Linked DNA regions of Homo sapiens: all the other regions are linked to region 5. Evidence: promoter capture Hi-C in 16 types of primary human blood cells and fetal thymus (Javierre and others, 2016). All regions are on one chromosome and are shown on one strand. Each heading gives the region's core, a stretch centred on a gene start or on the middle of the fragment in contact. The rest is flanking DNA. Distances are from core to core; before and after follow the strand shown. Region 1 overlaps BICD1-AS1 (BICD1 antisense RNA 1). Region 2 has its middle 70 kb from the start of BICD1. Region 3 overlaps BICD1 (BICD cargo adaptor 1). Region 4 overlaps SINHCAF (SIN3-HDAC complex associated factor). Region 5 holds the start of AMN1 (antagonist of mitotic exit network 1 homolog). Region 6 has its middle 52 kb from the start of BICD1. Region 7 has its middle 35 kb from the start of BICD1.

Region 1 (2,885 bases), core at 113-2,612, 380 kb before region 5:
ATAAGCATTTTTTAAACAATAAGAGCTAAGAGTTCTTGAGACCCATACCAAGCATTCTTCTAAGTATGTAACATGCGTTCTCTCCAATCCTAACAATGCTTTGAGGTAAGAGCCATTATCCTCAGTTTACAGGGGGTGAAAGGCAAAGGGAGATGTGATTTGTCCAAAGTCAGGCAACTCTGGAATCTTAACTCGGGAGCACTAAACGGGATCATTATGTTGGCTTCAGGTTCACTCATTACTCATACAAACCCAGCAACTACATATTACATGCTTTTAAGATAATCACATTAATCCATATGAAGAGTGATGATGAACGGTTACAAAAGGAGGTGAAAGCAAAGTAAGAGTGGAGTAAATGAAAGAGTGGAGAAGGGTCGAGAATCAAGAGGAAGAACGCAACATGAGAGAAAAGAAGCAATTTCTGTGTAACGGGAGGCTGTGAGACCCACAGATCAGTGGGTCTTTCCAGTTCCCTCTCTTCTTCTGCATGGCACCTATTCCAGAGCTGTTTCTCAGTGACCAGGTGATGAACACACATGCGTTTTCTAAGTTAGAAAGCAGGACTCAACTCTCCCATCATTGTGTACCTGGTAAAAAAAAAAAAAAAAAAAAAAAAGATGATTGTTGACCGGGCACAGTGGCTCACGCCTATAATCCCAGCACTTTGGGAGGCAGAAGTGGATGGATCATTTGAGGTCCGGAGTTCAAGACTAGCCTGGCCCACATGGTGAAATCCCATCTCTACTAAAAATACAAAAATTAGCCAGGTATGGTGGTGCACGCCTGTGATCCCAGCTACTTGGGAGGCTGAGGCAGGAGAATTGCTTGAATCCAGGAGGTGGAGGGTACAGATGGCACCACTATACTCCAGCCTAGGCAACAGAGACTCCATCTCAAAAAAAAAAAAAAAAAAGGACACTTGTTGATGGCGTGGGAGAAAAAGCATATGACAGTGCCCTTCCAAAGTTTCCACTAGCAGGCTGTCTGGATGTGTTTTCCATTGCTTCACAAACCAGACAAGTTTCCTTCTAAACGCCAGCGATCACAACAGAATATTCTCATGTGATTGTCTGATCTAAAAATAAAACAAAAGAATATTCTCTTGTGATTGTCTGATCTAAAAATAAATAAATAAAAGGAGAAAACATTCCAAATGTGCAGCCACCATAAATTCCAGCCTTGTAGAGAAGCGGATGATAATGACTACAACATCCGACCCATCTTTCCTTATCTCGCACTCCAGGTGGGAAGCCCCTCCTGTGTGCTCCCGTGGCATCTGACCTCTGACACGTTGATGAATGATGATGAACTGCTGAAAAGAGATGGAACCTGCAATTGCAGGTAGCTAACCTGCCTTCCCAGGAAGCCTCTGGCTGTTCCTCACTCTACAAACTGTAAGCATAGGCCTTCCAAAGGGATCATAAGACTCGCACTAGATTGCCTGTGCCTCCCTCTCCTTTGGATCAAACTAAGAACAGAGTTTGCCTCTGTGACTTTCCTTTTTGCTAAATTTCCATTGTGGTCCAGCCCCTATGCTCTATCCTGCCCCGTTTTTCTGATTGATACACTTTTGTCACTTGTCACTTTTGTCTGATTTCAGGCATGTCTTGCACACTCTGACACTTTAAGATGTTGCTTAGTTGAACTTTGATCCTTAAATGTTGGTATTTAACGTAAAGAAGATAAACTTATTTTCTTGTTTTTTTTCTCTTTTTTTCTGAGACAGGGTCTCCATCACTTAGGCTGGAGTGGAGTGGCATGATCATGACTCCCTGCAGCCTCAACCTCCTGGACTCAAGCGATCCTCCCACCTCAGCCTCCTGAGTAGCTGGAACTACAGATGAATACCACCACACTCAGCTAATTTTTTAAATTTTTGTAGAGACAGGGTCTGTCTATGTTGCCCAGGCTGGTCTCAAACTCCTGGGATCAAGTGATCCTCCCACCCTGGCCTCCCAAAGTTCTGGGATTACAGATGTGAGCCACCATGCCCAGCCAAATTTATTTTCCTATACACCATGCTGTTCCAGTACTGCATAGTTACAGTTCCCTCTTTTTTCGTATATGCCATATGTATTGCATATATATCAATGACAGGTATATAGAAAATAATTTCTTAAAGCATTCCTAGGCTGGGTGTGGTGGCTCATACTGGTAATCCTAGCACTTTGGGAGGCTGAGGCAGAAGGGTCACTTGAGGCCAGCAGTTCAAGACCAGCCTGGGCAACATAGCGAGACCTCATGGCTACAAAAAATTAAAAAATACTAGCTGGGCATGGTAATACATGCCTGTGGTCCCCAATACTTAGGAGGCTGAGGCAGTATGATGGCTTGAACCCAAGAGATTAAGGCTGCAATGTACTGATTGTGCCACTGTGCTCTAGCCTGGTGACAAAGCAAGACTCACCAAAAGAAAAGAAAAAAAGGCCAGGCTCGGTGGCTTACACCTGTAGTCCCAGTACTTTGGGAGGCCGAGGTGGGCGGATCATCTGAGGTCAGGAGTTCGAGACCAGCCCGACCAACATGGTGAAACCCCATCTCTACTAAAAATACAAAAATTAGCTGGGTGTGGTGGTGGGCGCCTGTAATCCCAGCTACTCGGGAGGCTGAGGCAGGAGAATCACTTGAATTCGGGAGTTGGAGGTTGGAGTGAGCAGAGATCCGCCACTGCACTCTAGCCCAAGTGACAGAGTGAGACTCCGTCTCAAAAAAAAGAAAAGAAAAAAAGCAAAAAAAAAAAGCACAAGCTAGTCTACTTGGGTCATATCCAACTTTGCCACTTACTAGCTGTGTGTTTCTCAGTTGTGTCATATCTAAAAAGGAGATAATAATATAATCTAATTATGAGATTGTTGTGAATAGAATAGTATCACACACATAAG
Region 2 (2,828 bases), core at 160-2,659, 310 kb before region 5:
AGAATGGCGTGAACCCGGGAGGCAGAGTTTGCAGTGAGCCAAGATTGCGCCACTGCACTCCAGCCTGGGCTGGGCACAGAGCAAGACTCCGTCTCAAAAAAAAAAAAAAAAAGAAAAGAAAAGGAAAAGGAAAGAAAATAAAACAGTGCAATGGTGTAAGGCTAAGTATTAATTCAGTCACGTATGTGTGTCTGTGTGCCTGTGTCCTGGGTCATAAGATAAGCTGTGTTTCTTTGAGAACTGGCCTAGGAAATCCCTAATAGTTACCTGAAGGGAAGGAAGAAAGAAGTCAGTTGATACTAAATGTCTTAGATAGCTACAGGTCAGGCTTTGAGATCTTAGTTCCATCCCCGCAATTTACCTACCAATCAGTATTATTGGTAGTCCATATCACCTGAGGAGTCTTCAGCTGTCCCAAGTCTGGCATTTGAAACACAAAACTCGGCCAGGTGCAGTGGCTAACACCTGTAATCCCAGCACTTTGAGATGCCAAGGCGAGCAGATCACTTGAAGTCAGGAGTTCGAGACCAGCCTAGTTAATATGGCGAAACCCCGTGTCTACTAAAAATACAAAAATTAGCCAGGTGTGGTGGTGCACATCTGTAATCCCAGCTACTTGGGAGGCTGAGACAGAAGATTCGCTTGAACCTGGGAGGCAGAAGTTGCAGTGACCCAAGATTGCACCACTCACTGCATTCCAGCCTGGGTGACAGATTGAGACTCGGCCTCAAAAAAAAAAAAAAAAAAAGAAATCCAAAACTCATTGCATTACCACTCTCCTCCAGTTTCTCTCACCTCCTGGCAAGCAGCCTCTTCACATATTTTAGGTAAGCCAGTAAGAAATAAAGAGGGTAAGTATGCATAAAGAAAAAACATGGCCGGGTGCAGTGGCTCACGCCTATAATCAGCACTTTGGGAGGACAAGCCAATCACTTGAGCTCAGGGGTTTGAGACCAGCCTGGGCAACACGGCGAAACCCTATCTCTACAAAAAACTATGAAAAATTAGGCCGGGTGCAGTGGCTCACGCCTGTAATCCCAGCACTTTGGGAGGCCGAGGTGGGCGGATCATGAGGTCAGGAGATCGAGACCATCCTGGCTAACAAGGTGAAACCCCGTCTCTACTAAAAATACAAAAAAATTAGCCGGACGTAGTGGCGGGCATCTGTAGTCCCAGCTACTTGGGAGGCTGAGCCAGGAGAATGGCGTGAACCCGGGAGGTGGAGGTTGCAATGAGCTGAGATCACGCCACTGCACACCAGCCTGGGCGACAGAGTGAGACTCCGTCTCAAAAAACAAAAAACCAAAAACCAAAACAACGAAAATTAGCTGGGCATGATGGCATAAGCCTGTAGCCCCAGAGATTCAGGAAGCTGAGATGGGAGGATTGCTTGAGCCCAGGAAGTCGAAGCTGTAGTGAGCTGAGATCGTGTCACTGCACTCCAGCCTAGGTGACAGAGCGAGACCTTGTCTCAAAAACAAAACAAAACAAAACAAAAAATGCTACATCAGCTTGTTTTTATAGATAGATATGAACAAACAAACAAAAGTAATTTCAAGGGACTATACGGAACATCTTAAACCAAGTTTGATCATTTTTACAAATGAGAAAAAGTTAATACCATTGACATTAATGATTGGCTTGAGGTAATATAGCAATAATGATCTCAACTCAGTATTGTGGTACTAGTGATAGATTAAGAGGAAGAAACGAGCTCTTCGTATTTTCAGACCAAGGTTCTCCTGGCCTATTCCACGCCCCGGACACAGAGTGTGTGAGTGGCACTTACGTGTGGATATGTTTTCATTCAGTCTCACTCTGGAGTCCCTGCGCTGTGCTTCTGGGGCTTTGGGACTGTCTGGAACACAGCAGGAGGCAGCACCTTGTGGTGGTGAGTGAAGCTGCCATTCCTCTCCATTCATCCTGAATTTACCTGGAGTCAAAGTATCTTGGGAGAGATGCTGGATCTAATTGGATTTCACTAATCAGTTGCCTAAGTGGAGTTTGGGGATGGGGACTCCCAAGGGTGTTCTGAGCAGGACATTTTCATATCTGTAGCTTAGGGACACCTTGTGGAGATTTTATCCATAGCTAACTAAAACATCCAAAAAGAAAACAAAACCACAAGTGGTTTGAAACTTAAGAATTTTCTTGGCCAGGCACGGTGGCTCATGCCTGTAATCCCAGCACTTTGGGAGGCCACGGCAGGTGGATCACTTGAGGTCAGGAGTTCAAGACCAGCCTGGCCAAGATGGTGAAATCTCGTCTCTACTAAAAATACAAAAATTAGCCGGGCGTGATGACAGGCACCTGTAATCCCAGCAACTCGGGAGGCTGAGGCAGAAGAATTGCTCCAACCTGGGAGGTGGAGGTTGCAGTGAGCCAAGATTGCACCACTGCATTCCAGCCTGGGCGACAGAGCGCGAGACTCCATCTAAAAAAAAAAAAAAAAAAAAAAAAAAAAGAGCAAAATTAACTTAAAAAGGCTGTCATTTGCCCTAAATGGGATGCGTACTTCACAGAGTGATAAGGAAATTCACCTCTGCATCTGCATATGTTACCTTGTCATTTTCAGGCACGATCTGCTTAAAAGAATTATTATCATTTGAAGTAGACACTGATTCTTCTTCAGCAAATTTGTGTCTTCTATTTTTTCATGTAGTCAATGATATTACTACAGCCTTCACCGGGGATGGTAAATGTTGATAAATATTTTGTGCAATTTATACATGCATCATTAGCTTCCTTGAGAAACTCAAAGTTCAGACTTAATTTTTCTTTTTCTTTCTTTTTTTTTTTTTTGAGATGGAGTCTCGCTCTGTCACCCA
Region 3 (2,816 bases), core at 181-2,680, 410 kb before region 5:
ATATGCAATTCAACTACTGTAGATTCAAAGATGGTCACAATAATTTATATACTCAAAGTTATGAAGGGTTAAAGAACTAATTATGAAAGACAATTTTTGTCCTTCTTCCCTACATAGGGAAAAATTTCTTAAAGACACAAAAATACATAACAAAGAGAAAAATTAATAAATTCAATTACATTCACCAAATTGAGAATTTTATCAAAGGACACCACAAAAAGAGTAAACTGCAGAGATGAAGATATTTGCAACACATACAAAGAATAAAGGACTAGGGGCCAGAATATATATTATACAAAGAACTCCTATAGATCATTTTGAAAAGACAGGTAACATTTGAAATGGCTGAAGACTTAAACAGGCATTTCATAAATTAGGAAATCGAAATAAAAATATGAAAAATTGCTCAAGCTTATTAGTAACTAGGGATAATGCAAATTATAAGTACCATAGGATACCATTATACACCCATCAGTTGAGCCAAATGTTAAAATCTGACAATATCCAATGATGGTGAGAATAGAGAATTCTCATACACTGCTGGAAGGTAAATAAATTGGTATGATCGCTTTGGAAAATACAGGCAGGTTGAAGATTGGCAATTCTACACCACCGTGATCACGCTCATAGAAATTCGCAAACATGTTCACCAGGCTATATGTACAACAGGTGCAGAGCAGCACTATTCATAATAGCCCAAACAATGAAAGCAAGTCAAAACCCATCAACTAAAAAATGGATAAACTGTGGTACAATCATACAATGGGATACTATACCATAACAAAATGAAATAACTAGCACTGTGTACAACAACCTGGAGAATCTCACACACACACAAAAAAAAATGTTAAATGAAAGAAAAAGCATTAAATAATATATGCAATATTATTCCATTCATGTAAAGTTCAAAAAGCAGACAAAAACTAAATTATGTGTGATAAAACTATAAAAGAAAATTAAGTAAATTATTACAACAAGTTGTGGACAATGGTTGTCTGGGACAGAGAAAGCTACGATGGAGAAGGGCACAAATGGAGATTGTGCGGTGCTTATGATATTCTATTTCCTTCATCTGGGTGGTGGCTACATGAATAGCAGGTTTATATTATTTGTTAAACTGTATATTCATGTTTGTGCACTTTTTCTGTATATATGGTATATTTCCCACAGGATGTTTTTCAGAAAGGTTATATAGACATATGAGACTAGATGGTCTGGTAAAAGAATGACAGGTGATAGACAAAAGGCAAACAAAAAATATAATCAGGAGGTAATAAGTGCTATGAAGAAAAGAAAAGCAGGATAGGGGAATAGGTTGAGAAGAGAGAACTATTTAACGGCTTGTAGCACCAGGATCTCCATAGTTAAGCCTCATGGAGTGCCACTGTGAACACAGCAAAGGCAATGCAAATTGAATGCACAATGAAGTTTCAAATTGTGCTGCATGCAAGATTTCATAAAGTCCACAAGAGATGGCTCCAACAACATCAAAAGTCCCTGACAGATAAAGATCTGGCAGCATTAGACTGTCAACAATTGAAGAAAAGAAAATAAGAAAAGCTGTCTATATTTTGGGTGCTTCATGAGAGAATAATCTTAATGATGAAATTTTTTTAAGGCTTAGAAAACTAATGAAGCCCTCAAATATGGTGTGAGATCTCTTTATAAGAATGCTGCAAGAGTCAGATGTGAAGCGAAGGCTGTTGTAATATGCCTTTTTTATAGAAAAACAATCATGCTATAAATAACAATAAAGCATTTTTAATTTGAAAAATTAGTTGACTGCTATTTTTATCTAGATAGATAGACCAATAGATAGATAGATAGATAGATAGATAGATAGATAGGATAGATAGGTGGGGTTTTTTGTTTTTTTTTTTTTTTTTTTTTTTTTTAGACAGAGTCTCACTCTTTTGCCCAGGCTGGAAGTGTGGTGACACGATCTCAGCTCACTGCAACCTCTGCCTCCCAGGTTCAAGCGATTCTCCTGTCTCAGCCTCCCCAGTAGCTCAGAGTACAGGCGCCTGCCACCACACCTGGCTAATTTTTGTATTTTTAATAGAGACGGGGTTTCACCATGTTGGCCAGGCTGGTCTCGAACTCCTGACCTCTAGTGACCCGCCCACCTTGGCCTCCTAAAGTGCTGGGATTACAGGCCTGAGCCATCACGCCAGGCTGTCAATAAACTTTTATGTTGACATACTTCAATAGAGTTTCAGTCAATCCCTCTTTTCCCTCCCTAATTTTTCCTATTTGAAAAGAATCCGCTCTCTCCTGTTTTGTTCAGCAAAATGTAAAACATTGATAAGATTTATACCTTTTTGAAAAAAATAGACTATGGTTGAGCCCATACATTCGATGAACATTTGTTCGTCACCTACTATGTGCTAGGCTCTGGGGAGAAACAAAAACAAATGAAACAAGAATCACCAAGACTCAAGAAGCTTACAACGAACGGCGAATAAAAAGGCTAGAAAACCACTGGCTTCGGGAATCTGTGGTAAGTGCTATTCAAAATGGGTGTCCAGGCCAGGCGCGGTGGCTCACGCCTGTAATCCCAGCACTTTGGGAGGCTGAGGCGGATGGATCATTTAAGGTTAGGGGTTTGAGACCAGCCTGGCCAACATGGTGAAACCCCACCTCTACTAAAAATAGAAAAATTAGCTGGGCGTAGTGGCGGGCGCCTGTACTCCGAGCTACTCGGGAGGCTGAGGCAGGAGAATCGCTTGAACCCAGGAGGTGGAGGGTGCAGTGAGCCGAGATTGCACCACTGCACTCCAGCCTGGGCGACAGAGCAAGACTCCGCTCAAAAACAA
Region 4 (2,700 bases), core at 98-2,597, 410 kb after region 5:
TGTCTTGATAACCAAGGTTATTGGAGAGTGATGCTCTTGGTTAAAAAAAAAAAAGCAGGAGGTAGTAAAGTGAAAGTAAGCTTCTTTTATGCTTGTACTCCTCAGAGGCAACCACTATTTACTATTTTTAAGAACCAATTTAAAAAGAAGTTTGTGTAGTTACAGTCTCATTTTAAAAACATCCTGTGAGATTATACTGTATTACTACTGTTCAACTTGCTTTAAAGGTTGAAACAGCGTGCTGTGGTGTTTCAACCATAATTTAACCAGTCTGAAAATTCGTTGACATTTAAGTCACTTCAACTATCTTGTGTTTTTTTTTTGTTTTTAAAGACTTAGGCCAGTTGATTTTTAGAAAGAAAAAAATGATAATTAGAAGCTAGGGTTTTGGTTTATTGGAAACTTAAGGATAGTTTCATTTGGGAGGTTGTTCCCCTAATTTGTGCATATCAGAATTTCAGTTCCCAAGATGACTTGGACAGTTGTGAAGTTAACTGTTATTTACCACGTTTGACTATTGCTCTCAATTTTCTTCCATCTAGTCCACCCAGTGGTATTACTGAGTTTTGAAAGGTACTTTTGAATATTAAAAAACGCTTTACTTCTGAATATATAAAAAAGCCAGAAGAAGGAATCTAGAAAGTGGAATTGGGGAAGTTAGAGTAAATAATGATGTCCTTCAAAGCATGCATGCCAACTAAGGTGAACTTAACATATGTTAAATTCATCGTAATAAGAACCCTCTCCATATCCTTAAATGTGAGTTAACACCCTTATAAAGATTTAAAAAGACAAGAAAATAGTTGAATTAAATTCATCACCTTTTCTCTGTCTCCTATTCCATATTAAAAAGGGTACTAAAGCTCTAAAATTTGCATTTCAGTATTTTTCATTCTGTTTCCTGGTTGGAGCTTAAAATGAACAAGTATTTAGTATTGCTGAGATTTATAAGAGATAATCTTTAATCTTATTTATCAGAAAACTTTTCTTAAATAGCGTCTTTAATATAAACTATCGCTGTGAAACTCTTTTTCTTTCCTATGTATATTATTATATTCAGTAAACTTATGTGTTTAATTAGATGTAAAATTAGACGTTATTCTTGATCTTTGGCTTCCCAATTTCATTAGATGGGATTAGAATTGTCCCTTTTGTGTCTTTGATATATTGTGGTTATCTCATCCCTTTCTTGACTCATCAGCACCAAGGTTAGATTCATTAAGTTAGATTCATTAAGATCATTAAATTTATATGAAACCCACAGCTTTAAAGTAGAAGAAAACCCTACAAATCAGCCAAAACAGATGTTTAGAATTGATTGTTGTGTTTTAAAACTTTATTTTTTTGTTTATATATATTGTCCATATAATTAGTTATCTTTTTAAATTGCTTTTGCTGACTTAGCTATTACCTTTAATCTTTTTTAACTTTGGGATATTCAGTTTATTTGGTCAGAGCTATAATTATGGCATGGTTTTTTTTTTATTTTTTATTTTTGAGATGAATTTTTGCTCTTGTCCCCAAGGCTGGAGTGCAGTGGCACAATCTCGGCTCACTGCATACTCTGCCTCCCGGGTTCAAGCAATTCTGCTGCCTCAGCCTCCTGAGTAGCTGAGATTTACAGGCGTCTGCCACTACTACGCCTGGCAAATTTTTTTATATTTAGTAGAGACAGGGTTGCGTCATGTTGGTCAGGCTGGTCTCAAACTCCTGACCTCAGGTGATCCACCCACCTTGGCATCCCAAAGTGCTGGGATTATAGGCTTGAGCCACCACGCCCGGCCATGGTTGATTGTTTTTAACTGTTACAGTATTAAAACAATTTTTGGGTTTTTGGCTAATAGTAGTCAAAGAAAGAATGCCAGTGAAAGTGCTTTATAAAATGTAAAGTGCTATACAAATGACAACTTAAAATTTAAGCAACACATTTATTACACCTGTGAAAGCAAATAAAAGAAAAAACTGATCAACACAGTCCTCCTCTAAATTTCTTTCTGGCCCAGGAATGTGTGTATATTGCAAAAACAGCTATGTCAGAGATAAGCGTTACAAACTCCCATAAATAGGCATGTTTTAACTGTAACCTTTCAAATCCTGAGGAACTTCTCAAAATGTTTGTCCTATTTGAAGAAACTTCAGACAGCATACTGTAGACAGATAGATGATGATAGATGGTGTCAGAAGAAAAGATAAAACTGGTCCAAGATGGCTGCAGTTTGGACATATGCATAATTAAACCACTGCCTACAAACTAAAGCTGACCCCTTGGGTTTGTAACTGGAGTTTGTTAAATATTTTACTGACAGATACTGGTTGTAAACTTGTTTATCAGATACAGAACAAAGGCAGGATGGAATCAATCATCCTTCCACCAGACCCTAAGGTGCCTACACAATTATTAACTTTTCTCTTCTACCCACTCAACCACATATTTACTTGACTTTAGGCATAACATCACTGAATATGAACCAAATTCTCAACTATTGCTTCACCATACCGCACATATTTTCCTGTTTAAAAAATATATAAAGACTGTGCCTCATGCAGTCTACTTCAGAGCACAGGTAATAAGCTACTGGAACTTGTGCTTCCTGGGTGCGCATCCTCAAGCTTTGTGTTTGCAAGCAGCACATTCAGATTCAGAACACCTCCTGACTTAGTCAATCTAATGAGAAGGTATTAAAAATTATGGAGAACAAA
Region 5 (2,700 bases), core at 85-2,584:
GTACTAGGATTACAGGTGTGAGCCACCGCGTCTGGCCTTGAGACAGTTCTTATCTCAGACATACAAGCATGAGTTTCCTTCCTTTCTGGTCTCTAGGCTCCAATTTGTCTGGGTCTGACAATAGTTACTTCTCCTGGAATCTGCAACTTTCAGAGCACTTTATGGAAAAAGTCGGCCAACCCCTGCCCTACACTCACTCTTGATCACTCTCCAGTGTAGCCATCCCAAACTATTTGCAGACCACCCTTTTCTCTCTGATCTGTATCCCACCCCCATGGGTGCTTCCATAGAACTAACCCCATCTAAGCATTTAACAGTTATTCTAATTGCCCTTTTACTTGTCTGACCCAAGTGTTCGCCACTCAATCCTCAGCACCCAGCACGATCCCTAGCCCTCGTTCAGCGCTTAATAAATCCATGTTGATTCAATGTGTAGCATCCTGAACAGGCAACAGCAGTGGGTTCCAACTTTCAAGGAGCTTAAAAAAGGAACTCAGCATACAAACAACAGACTAATCTACAAGGAAGAATGAGGGGGGTGGAGGGAGCACTAAAAAGCAGCAAGTACTCTGCAGCAGAACCAAAGATAAAATTCCACCTAAAGGTGCCCTTTCTTCAGGATCCTTCCTAATTTGAATACAGGTTCCCTTCTCCTCCATGACGAAATTCTTAGTGAGGTTACTTGTTGGTACGCAGTGTCCTCATCTGTAAAATAAGGCTAAATAATTACGATTTCACCGGATTATAATGAATATGGTTAAGTATTGAACTAAGGCCTAGAAAGCACGTAGCTCAGTGCACGCTTCCTAGAAAGTGCTCAGTAAACTCGGATCCTCTAACACGCTCCGTTTGATGTTAATGGAGTCCGTATCCGAGCGGGTCTCCAGTGTGCATCGCCAAGGGTATGGCCCAGCATCCAACGCATCCTTTTAGTAAGAGTAGCGACTTCTCAGCGCTCCCTTCGCCCCAGGAGAGTTCTCGGCTCGCGGCGTCGCGGCGGGGCTGCGCGCTGGGCTGAACTCCCAAGAAACCTCCTGCAGCTGAACCGGAGCAGACGCCCGCCAGGTGAAAGAACTACAACTCCCGTCACGTTGCATCCGAGTTTAGGGCCTCTTTATAGTTTATCACACCCAGCCTCTTCCGCGCAGCCCTCAGTGGCTCCGCCCCAAAGGGGGCTCTCTTCTTTCCTTGTGGAGTCCGAAGCGTGGCCACGCCCCGGTCACCGGAAAAATCCGTGTGACGTCACAAAAACCTACGCGTCGCGCGGTGGGCGGGAGTTGGCGGACGGTCCCTGGCTGGGTTCTGGAGGCCCTGGGACCGCGGAAGAGGCTTCAGACGCTGCAGCGATGCCTCGCCCACGGCGGGTCAGTCAGCTCCTGGATCTGTGAGTCTACCCTGTCCCGCCTCCCTTCGCGCCGCCCCAGCACCTCCTCCAAACGGCCAGGCCCTGCGCTGCTCTTCCTCCCCGCCCCTTTCCCACCCCCCCCGCCGACCTCTGAAGAGGCCCCGCGTGTGTTTCTGTCCCTGGGTTCCTGATCTGTCGTTTCCTGGCTGAGGACAGTTGTGCAAAGTGGGTCTCTTGGCGGGCTTGCCCCTCCAACACTCCGCTGCGCGATGAGCGTCCATTCCTCCGTCAGCCTTGACAGCTCGGCGCCCCGGCTGTTACTGGCAGTGGCCTCTCTCTTAGCAGCTAAAAGCCTTGGTAGAAAAAAACACAACGCTAGATGAGGTTCTCAAAAGCTTCTAGCAGAATTCCACCCCTGTAACTGGAATAAACATTGACAGACCCTGGGATAAAGGTAACAAAGTGGTTAAGACCACGGATCCCTGGCTGAGATTGCTGGGTTCAGCCCCCGGCTCTGCCATTCACCAGCCACGTGACCATGGACCGGTAACGTAACCTCTCCCTGTGCCTAGGTTCTTTATCTATAAAATTTTTGTGATAATAGCACCCATCACATGGAGTTGTCCTGAGGGATAAATTTAAAACATGTAAAACCCTTATAAGGATGCCCAGCAAATAATAAACACCACTAAGTGTTATTGTTATTATTATTTCCTACCAGAAATTGTACGGAAATGGAAGTTACAAGGGCAATTGCGTCTCTCCAGGAGCTTTCAGTCCGTTAATATTGCCATGTAAAAAATAGACATCTTAAGGATAAGGAGAACAATCTCCTTAATCTACTGAAGGCTTTCTGAAACAATGGCATCTGATATTTTACATTAAACTTGGGAGGCCGAGGTGGGAGAACTGCTTGAGCTCAGGAGTTCGAGACCAGCCTGGGCAACGTGGCGAAACCCCGCCTCTACTAAAGATACAAAAATTATCTGGGCACGGTGGTTCACGCCTGTAATCCCAGCACTTTGGGAGGCCGAGGCACTTGAGATCAGGAGAGTTGGAGACCAGCCTAGCCAGCACGGCAAAACCGCGGCATGTACTAAAAATACAAAAATTAGCCAGGAGTAGTAGTGGCGCCGGTAGTCCCAGCTACTCTGGAGGCTGAGGCAGGAGAATCGCCTCAACCCAGGAGGCAGAGGTTGCAGTGAGCTGAGATCGCGCCACTGCACGCCTAGGCTGCTAGGCGACAGAGCGAGACTGTCTCAAAAAAATAAAATAAATAACTATAATATATGTAGAATAATATCACAAGCGGGAGAGTAACAAACTTTTGAAATTTCTAATAAGGAAAAGAATAG
Region 6 (2,700 bases), core at 177-2,676, 330 kb before region 5:
TCTCCCCTGCCTTCAATCTTCGCATATCTAGGATATCTTCCTTAGATTGGACTTACAGTTCTCCTCTTGGCCAGGCACGGTGGCTCACGCCTGTAATCCCAGCACTTTGGGAGGCCAAGGAGGGCAGATCACGAGGTCAGGAGATCCAGACCATCCTGGCTAACACGGTGAAACCCCGTCTCTATTAAAAATACAAAAAATTAGCTGGGCATGGTAGCAGGCGCCTGTAATCCCAGCTACTCAGGAGGCTGAGGCAGGAGAATGGTGTGAACCCGGGAGATGGAGCTTGCAGTGAGCTGAGATCGTGCCACTGCACTCCAGCCTGGGCGACAGAGTGAGACTCTGTCTCAAAAAAAAAAAAAAAAAAAGAGTTATCTAAAAGAAGAACCCTTCACAGTCACACATTTGATTTCCTCACAAAATGTGAAGGTGAGGGCTAGGTTCCATTCATTGCAGTAGCTTCTGGTACATAGTATGTGTTCAGTAAACACTGGTTGAATTAAAACTTAGAGAATTGGAACCAAAAGACAATTGGAACTGAAGACAATGGAAACAGAAAAACTATATATTAAAGGTTCTCAAGTGTTGGTCAGAAAAAGTATGCAAAACTTGGAAATAAGGCAAAAAGCTAAATAGCACATCCTTTTGTTACAGGAAAGGAGTCCTGATCCAGATCCCAAGAGAGGGTTCTTGGATCTTGCATAAGAAAGAATTCAGGGCAAGTCAGTAGAGTACGGTGAAAGCAAGTTTATTAGGAAAGTAAAGGAATAAAAGAATGGCTACTTCATGAACGGAGCAGCCCCGAGGGCTGCTGGTTGCCCATTTTTATAGTTATTTATTGATGATATGCTAAACAAGGGGTGGATTATTCATGTTTCCCCTTTTTAGACCACATAGGGTAACTTCCTGACGTTGCCATGGCATTTGTAAACTGTCATGGCACTGGACGGAGTGTAGCAGAGAGGACAATCAGAGGACACTCTTGTTGCCATCTTGGTTTTGTTGGGTTTTAGCTGGCATCTTTACTGCAGTCTGTTTTATCAGCAAGGTCTTTAAGACCTGTATTTTGTGCCAACCTCCTACCTCATCCTGTGACTTAGAATGCCTTAACCATCTGGGAATGCAGCTCAGTAGGTCTCAGCCTCATTTTACCCAGCCCCTATTCAAGATGGAGTTGCTCTGGTTCACATGCTTCTGACAATTTCACTTTCATGCAGTGGCAAAGATCATCATAGGGTTGTCTAGAGTGAGGGCCAACGAACTTTATTTGTAAAAGTTGGTCACAACCCTCAGGCTCCACTGTGCCACGGACCCTGGTGGACTGAACAAAGGAGGACGAATGCGGGAATAAAGACAAAGACAAACAAGTATATTTGGAAGAAGGGGTCAGGGGTCTCCTTGCTTCTAGTGAACAAGGGCTCTGAGCTTCTATAGCCCTTTGTATTTATTGAGTAAAGGAAATAATGAGGAGGGGGTGGTTGTCAGTCAGCTGTTTCACTTAGTGCAGGCCTGCATAACTGCTTTCTTTGAACAGTAGGCTCCAGATGTTCCAGTAGATAACCTCAAGGAGCACGGCGCCAGGGAGTGATTGCCCTCAGCATACCTTCTGGTGGCAGGTGCAGATGTGAGTTTCCCCACATCCTGCATTCGTGATAAACAGTTTGCTCTTTTATCATATAGCCTCCAGTGGAGTGCTGAGTTGGTCATGACCCTCAGGCTTTCCCCAGCATGTAAAGGTTCACATAGTAAATTTCTCAGGCTCTAAGTCATAGTAAATTTCTCAGGCTCTGAGTCAGGTAGAAACCCTGTCTCTACTGTGAGCTTTAGGATTTCTGTGTTGAGAACTCAAGTCTAAATCTGTGGACTTTAGAATCTCTGCTGTGTGTACTCAGGACTGCCATTGTGGCACAAAAGCAGTCATGGACAATAAGCAAAGGAAGAAATAGGCTGGGCTCCAACAAAACTTTATTTACAAAATATGTGGGCTGGATTCAGCCAGAGGATCATAGTAACGTAAAGTTTATCCCATTATTTACTATTGATTAAGGGTCCCAGAATTCGTGAAATTACTTGTTAACTTGAAGATTTTTGTCAGGAAGAAATGCAAATAACTTCTGTTGGTGGGACAGATACAGGTCACACATTGCTTAACAGCAGGGAGAAATGCGTGAGGTGATTTTGTCCTCGTGCAAACCTTATAGAGTGTGCTTACACAAACCTAGATGATACAGCCTACTATATATGGAATAGCAAATTGCTCCTAGGTTACAAACCTGTACAGTGTGTTAGTATGCTAAATACTGTAGGCAATTGTAGCACAATGGTAAGTAATTGTGTATCTAAACATAAGTAGGTACGGTAAAAATATGGTATAAAAGATAAAAAATGGTACACCTGTATAGGACATGTTTACCAAAATTAAGGCTGTTGGGGCACAAATAATTTGATAAAGGTTTATTGGGGCCAAGTATGGTGGCTCACACCTGTAATCTCAGCATTTTGAGAGGCAGAGGTGGGCAGATCACTTGAGGTCAGGAGTTCAAGACCAGCCTAGCCAAATGGCAAAACCTGTCTCTTTTAAAAATACAAAAATTGGCCAGGCGCGGTGGCTCACACCTGTAACCCCAGCACTTTGGGAGGCCGGGGCAGGCAGATCACAAGGTCAGGAGTTCGGGACCAGCCTGGGCAAGATGGCGAAAC
Region 7 (2,700 bases), core at 181-2,680, 340 kb before region 5:
TGATGTCCTTATAAGAAAAGGAAATTTGGACAGGTACAGAGCAAAAGACCATGTGAAGACACCGAGAAAACGGCTGTTTCCAAGCCAAGGAGAGAGGCCTCAGAAAAAACCAACCTTGATCTCAGACTTCTGGCCTCCAGCACTAATCTCCCAAGAAACAAACTCTTAGAACTGGCCTAGGAATATCTACGAAAACAATGGTAAAAATTAAAAAAAAAAAATTGTCACATGAGTTACCTGTCTCCTGCTGCAATCTGGTGTCCAAGGTGAAATACCATTGTATGGTGTACTAAGCAAGCCACAGGGTTTCCAGCCCATGCACAGAGTCATTCCGTCTCAGCCAGGTGAACTCCACATCATTTCCATCATAGCCCTCTGATAAAGGAAATGGAGCCCTGGTCAGTGCAAGGACATTGCAGATTGAACTAGTCTAGAAAATGCTATAATAGCCCGGCACGGTGGCTCATGCCTGTAATCCCAGCACTTTGGGAGGCTGAGGCGGGTAGATCACGAGGTCAGGAGATTGAGACCATCCTGACTAACATGGTGAAACTCCGTCTCTACTAAAAATACAAAAAATTAGCTGGGTGTGGTGGCGGGCGCCTGTAGTCCTAGCTACTCAGGAGGCTGAGGTAGGAGAATGGCGTGAACCCGGGAGGCAGAACATGCAGTGAGCAGAGATCGCACCACTGCACTCCAGCCTGGGCAACAGAGTGAGACTCCGTCTCAAAAAAAAAAAGAAAGAAAATGCTATAATATGTAAATAGCATGAGTTATGTCTTCGTGGTGACAAGTCCAAGGACAATCCCTGCAAAACTTGGCATGATTTCTCAAGTGCAATTGCAATGTCTGTTCAAAATGAAGTGACCTGCTGGGACTGTTTGCCGTCAATTGAGAACTGGTCCTATGCTAGATATTGTGTAGATCAGGTAAATGATAAGTCTTTAGAAGTGGCCTCCCTCATTATTTAAATGTTATTATTGAACAAATATCCATGAACACACAAAGCTTATGTTAGATACTGCCTTTCAAGACTGTCTAATAGCTCTCGTGGTATTTTCAGGGAACAGAATGTAGAACTGAGCTGTTCATATTTTCACATTGGCATAAACGCAAAACTAAAACAAAAAACCTGCACTCAGCTGCTTTCTTAAAGTCTGTAACATGTGTGTTAAATCTCAAAACAGTTTAATTAATACAGTTGATAATAGTAACAACAGTTACCCTTTGAACACTTATGTTAAGTACTTTATACATTATGTCACTAATGTTCTTGCAAACTTGCAAGGAAGCCATTTCTTCATTTCTAAGATGGACATGTCTTTACATTTTCTGAAGTTGAGATGGACTTTACAGTTGATTGTATCTATCTATCTATCTATCTATATAGATTTATATATATATATAGTAGAGCTTATATTTTTCCTAAAATGCTACTATCCAATAAATTCTGTTCCATAGGAAAAAAATGACAACCCATTTTCTTAAAATGAGTGAAAGATTTGAACAGACACTTTTTATTTTTTTTTTGAGACAGAGTCTTGCTGTGTCCCCTAGGCTGGAGTGCAGTGGTGTATCTCGGCTCATGGCAACCTCCGCCTCCCAGTGAATAGATGCTTTTACCAAAGAAGATATATGAATGATCAATCAGCACATGGAAAGATGCTCAAAATCATTAGTCATCAGAGAAACGCAAATTAAAACCACAATGAAATATCACTATCCACAATTAGAATAGCTGAAATTCATACCATTTTTCATTAAAAGCACCACACCTAAACCAGGTCCAGGGCGGAAAAAGTACAAAATAAAATTGGAAAAAAAAAAAGAAAAGGAAGAAAAATAAGCTTGGAACAGCTTGTTGCCCCAGAAAGTAAAAACATTATCAAAGGCTAATGATGGGACACATCAAATAACAAAAAATTCCATAAGCCAGCTTGAAGAGGGTCCTTTTGGTCAAAGATAAGATGATTTGAACATCAAGAAGAATTATTATTTCAATTGATTAAAATAAATAAAAATATTACTCTGGGGGCTGAGGTGAGAAGATTGCTTAAGCCCAGGAGATTGAGGCTACAGTGAGTTGTGTTCGCACCACTGCACTCCAGCCTGGGTGACAGAGTGAGACCCTGTCTCAAGTAGATAAACAAATATATAAATAATAAAAAGTCATAATTTTTTTAAAGAGGAAAGAACAAACACGCCATAGTGAATGAATCGAGCAAAGGTTGCTGTGCACCAACTCATTACTCCAAAAACTGATAATTAAGGGGAAAGAACCGAGATTTTATATCACCTTTCCAGTATGAACAGTATTTCCTGGAAATCAAATAACCCTACTAGATAAGAGTTCTATATAGAATAATTACAGATAATAAATGTAGTATTAGAAAGTCAACATTTTGTAGCTCCTAATAAAATGACTTAAATACTGGTTATCAATAGATGACAAAATCATTAGGTAAAAAGGTTGATGCCACCACTTGAACTCGCTGATCCATCTTAGCAGCCACTGTAAGTGAAACAACCAGCTATTGCATGCTTTTGAATATGAGGCAATAGGAAGCATACAGCACCACCTATGAAGTAGTCATAAACTAAGCAATACAAAGCAAAACCTTAAACCTGAATCTATTCAAGCCTGTAGTCTACAAGAAAAATAGAAGATAGAGGAAAAAGTTAGGTAACACTAGGAGGAAA

What was found. Contacts are between HindIII fragments. The CHiCAGO score rates a contact against its expected background, and 5 or more counts as called.
Region 1: a contact is called between a fragment that was not itself captured here and the fragment with the promoter of AMN1 in region 5, in 7 of 17 cell types (activated CD4 T cells, total CD4 T cells, naive CD4 T cells and 4 more). The highest score is 10.4, in activated CD4 T cells.
Region 2: a fragment that was not itself captured here is called in contact with the fragment with the promoter of AMN1 in region 5 in 4 of 17 cell types (naive CD8 T cells, activated CD4 T cells, non-activated CD4 T cells and 1 more); the score reaches 5.7 in naive CD8 T cells.
Region 3: a fragment that was not itself captured here is called in contact with the fragment with the promoter of AMN1 in region 5 in 4 of 17 cell types (total B cells, activated CD4 T cells, naive B cells and 1 more); the score reaches 6.7 in total B cells.
Region 4: a fragment that was not itself captured here is called in contact with the fragment with the promoter of AMN1 in region 5 in 1 of 17 cell types (activated CD4 T cells); the score reaches 5.1 in activated CD4 T cells.
Region 6: a fragment that was not itself captured here is called in contact with the fragment with the promoter of AMN1 in region 5 in 3 of 17 cell types (activated CD4 T cells, total CD8 T cells and non-activated CD4 T cells); the score reaches 7.0 in activated CD4 T cells.
Region 7: a contact is called between a fragment that was not itself captured here and the fragment with the promoter of AMN1 in region 5, in 3 of 17 cell types (activated CD4 T cells, total CD4 T cells and naive CD8 T cells). The highest score is 9.5, in activated CD4 T cells.

What each region holds. Positions count from the first base shown.
Region 1 is chr12:32,103,135-32,106,019 of GRCh38, reverse strand. It overlaps BICD1-AS1 (BICD1 antisense RNA 1), which reads left to right. Exons shown (of 3, transcript NR_185992.1): 2 at 1,247-1,344; 3 at 1,730-1,903. Among named protein-coding and RNA genes, the nearest start is that of BICD1, 2.3 kb to the left of the region's middle. The HindIII fragment of the contact is 3,383 bases long and covers 1-2,885 here.
Region 2 is chr12:32,035,744-32,038,571 of GRCh38, reverse strand. No RefSeq gene overlaps it. Among named protein-coding and RNA genes, the nearest start is that of BICD1, 70 kb to the left of the region's middle. The HindIII fragment of the contact is 6,204 bases long and covers 1-2,828 here.
Region 3 is chr12:32,141,485-32,144,300 of GRCh38, reverse strand. The region is part of intron 1 of BICD1 (BICD cargo adaptor 1); the gene reads right to left. Among named protein-coding and RNA genes, the nearest start is that of BICD1-AS1, 35 kb to the right of the region's middle. The HindIII fragment of the contact is 2,033 bases long and covers 414-2,446 here.
Region 4 is chr12:31,314,968-31,317,667 of GRCh38, reverse strand. The region is part of intron 1 of SINHCAF (SIN3-HDAC complex associated factor); the gene reads left to right. Among named protein-coding and RNA genes, the nearest start is that of FLJ13224, 8.0 kb to the left of the region's middle. The HindIII fragment of the contact is 2,530 bases long and covers 83-2,612 here.
Region 5 is chr12:31,727,655-31,730,354 of GRCh38, reverse strand. AMN1 (antagonist of mitotic exit network 1 homolog) reads left to right here and starts at 1,334. Exons shown (of 7, transcript NM_001113402.2): 1 at 1,334-1,384. The coding sequence starts at 1,347. AMN1-AS1 (AMN1 antisense RNA 1) reads right to left here and starts at 1,090. Exons shown (of 1, transcript NR_198987.1): 1 at 1-1,090. It overlaps LOC105369722 (a long non-coding RNA gene), which reads right to left. Exons shown (of 3, transcript XR_931497.3): 3 at 1,465-1,698. RefSeq lists enhancers at 826-1,025, 421-1,053, 1,066-1,415 and a silencer at 1,466-1,545. The HindIII fragment of the contact is 3,446 bases long and covers 1-1,742 here.
Region 6 is chr12:32,053,219-32,055,918 of GRCh38, reverse strand. No RefSeq gene overlaps it. Among named protein-coding and RNA genes, the nearest start is that of BICD1, 52 kb to the left of the region's middle. The HindIII fragment of the contact is 7,795 bases long and covers 1-2,700 here.
Region 7 is chr12:32,070,413-32,073,112 of GRCh38, reverse strand. No RefSeq gene overlaps it. Among named protein-coding and RNA genes, the nearest start is that of BICD1, 35 kb to the left of the region's middle. The HindIII fragment of the contact is 839 bases long and covers 1,011-1,849 here.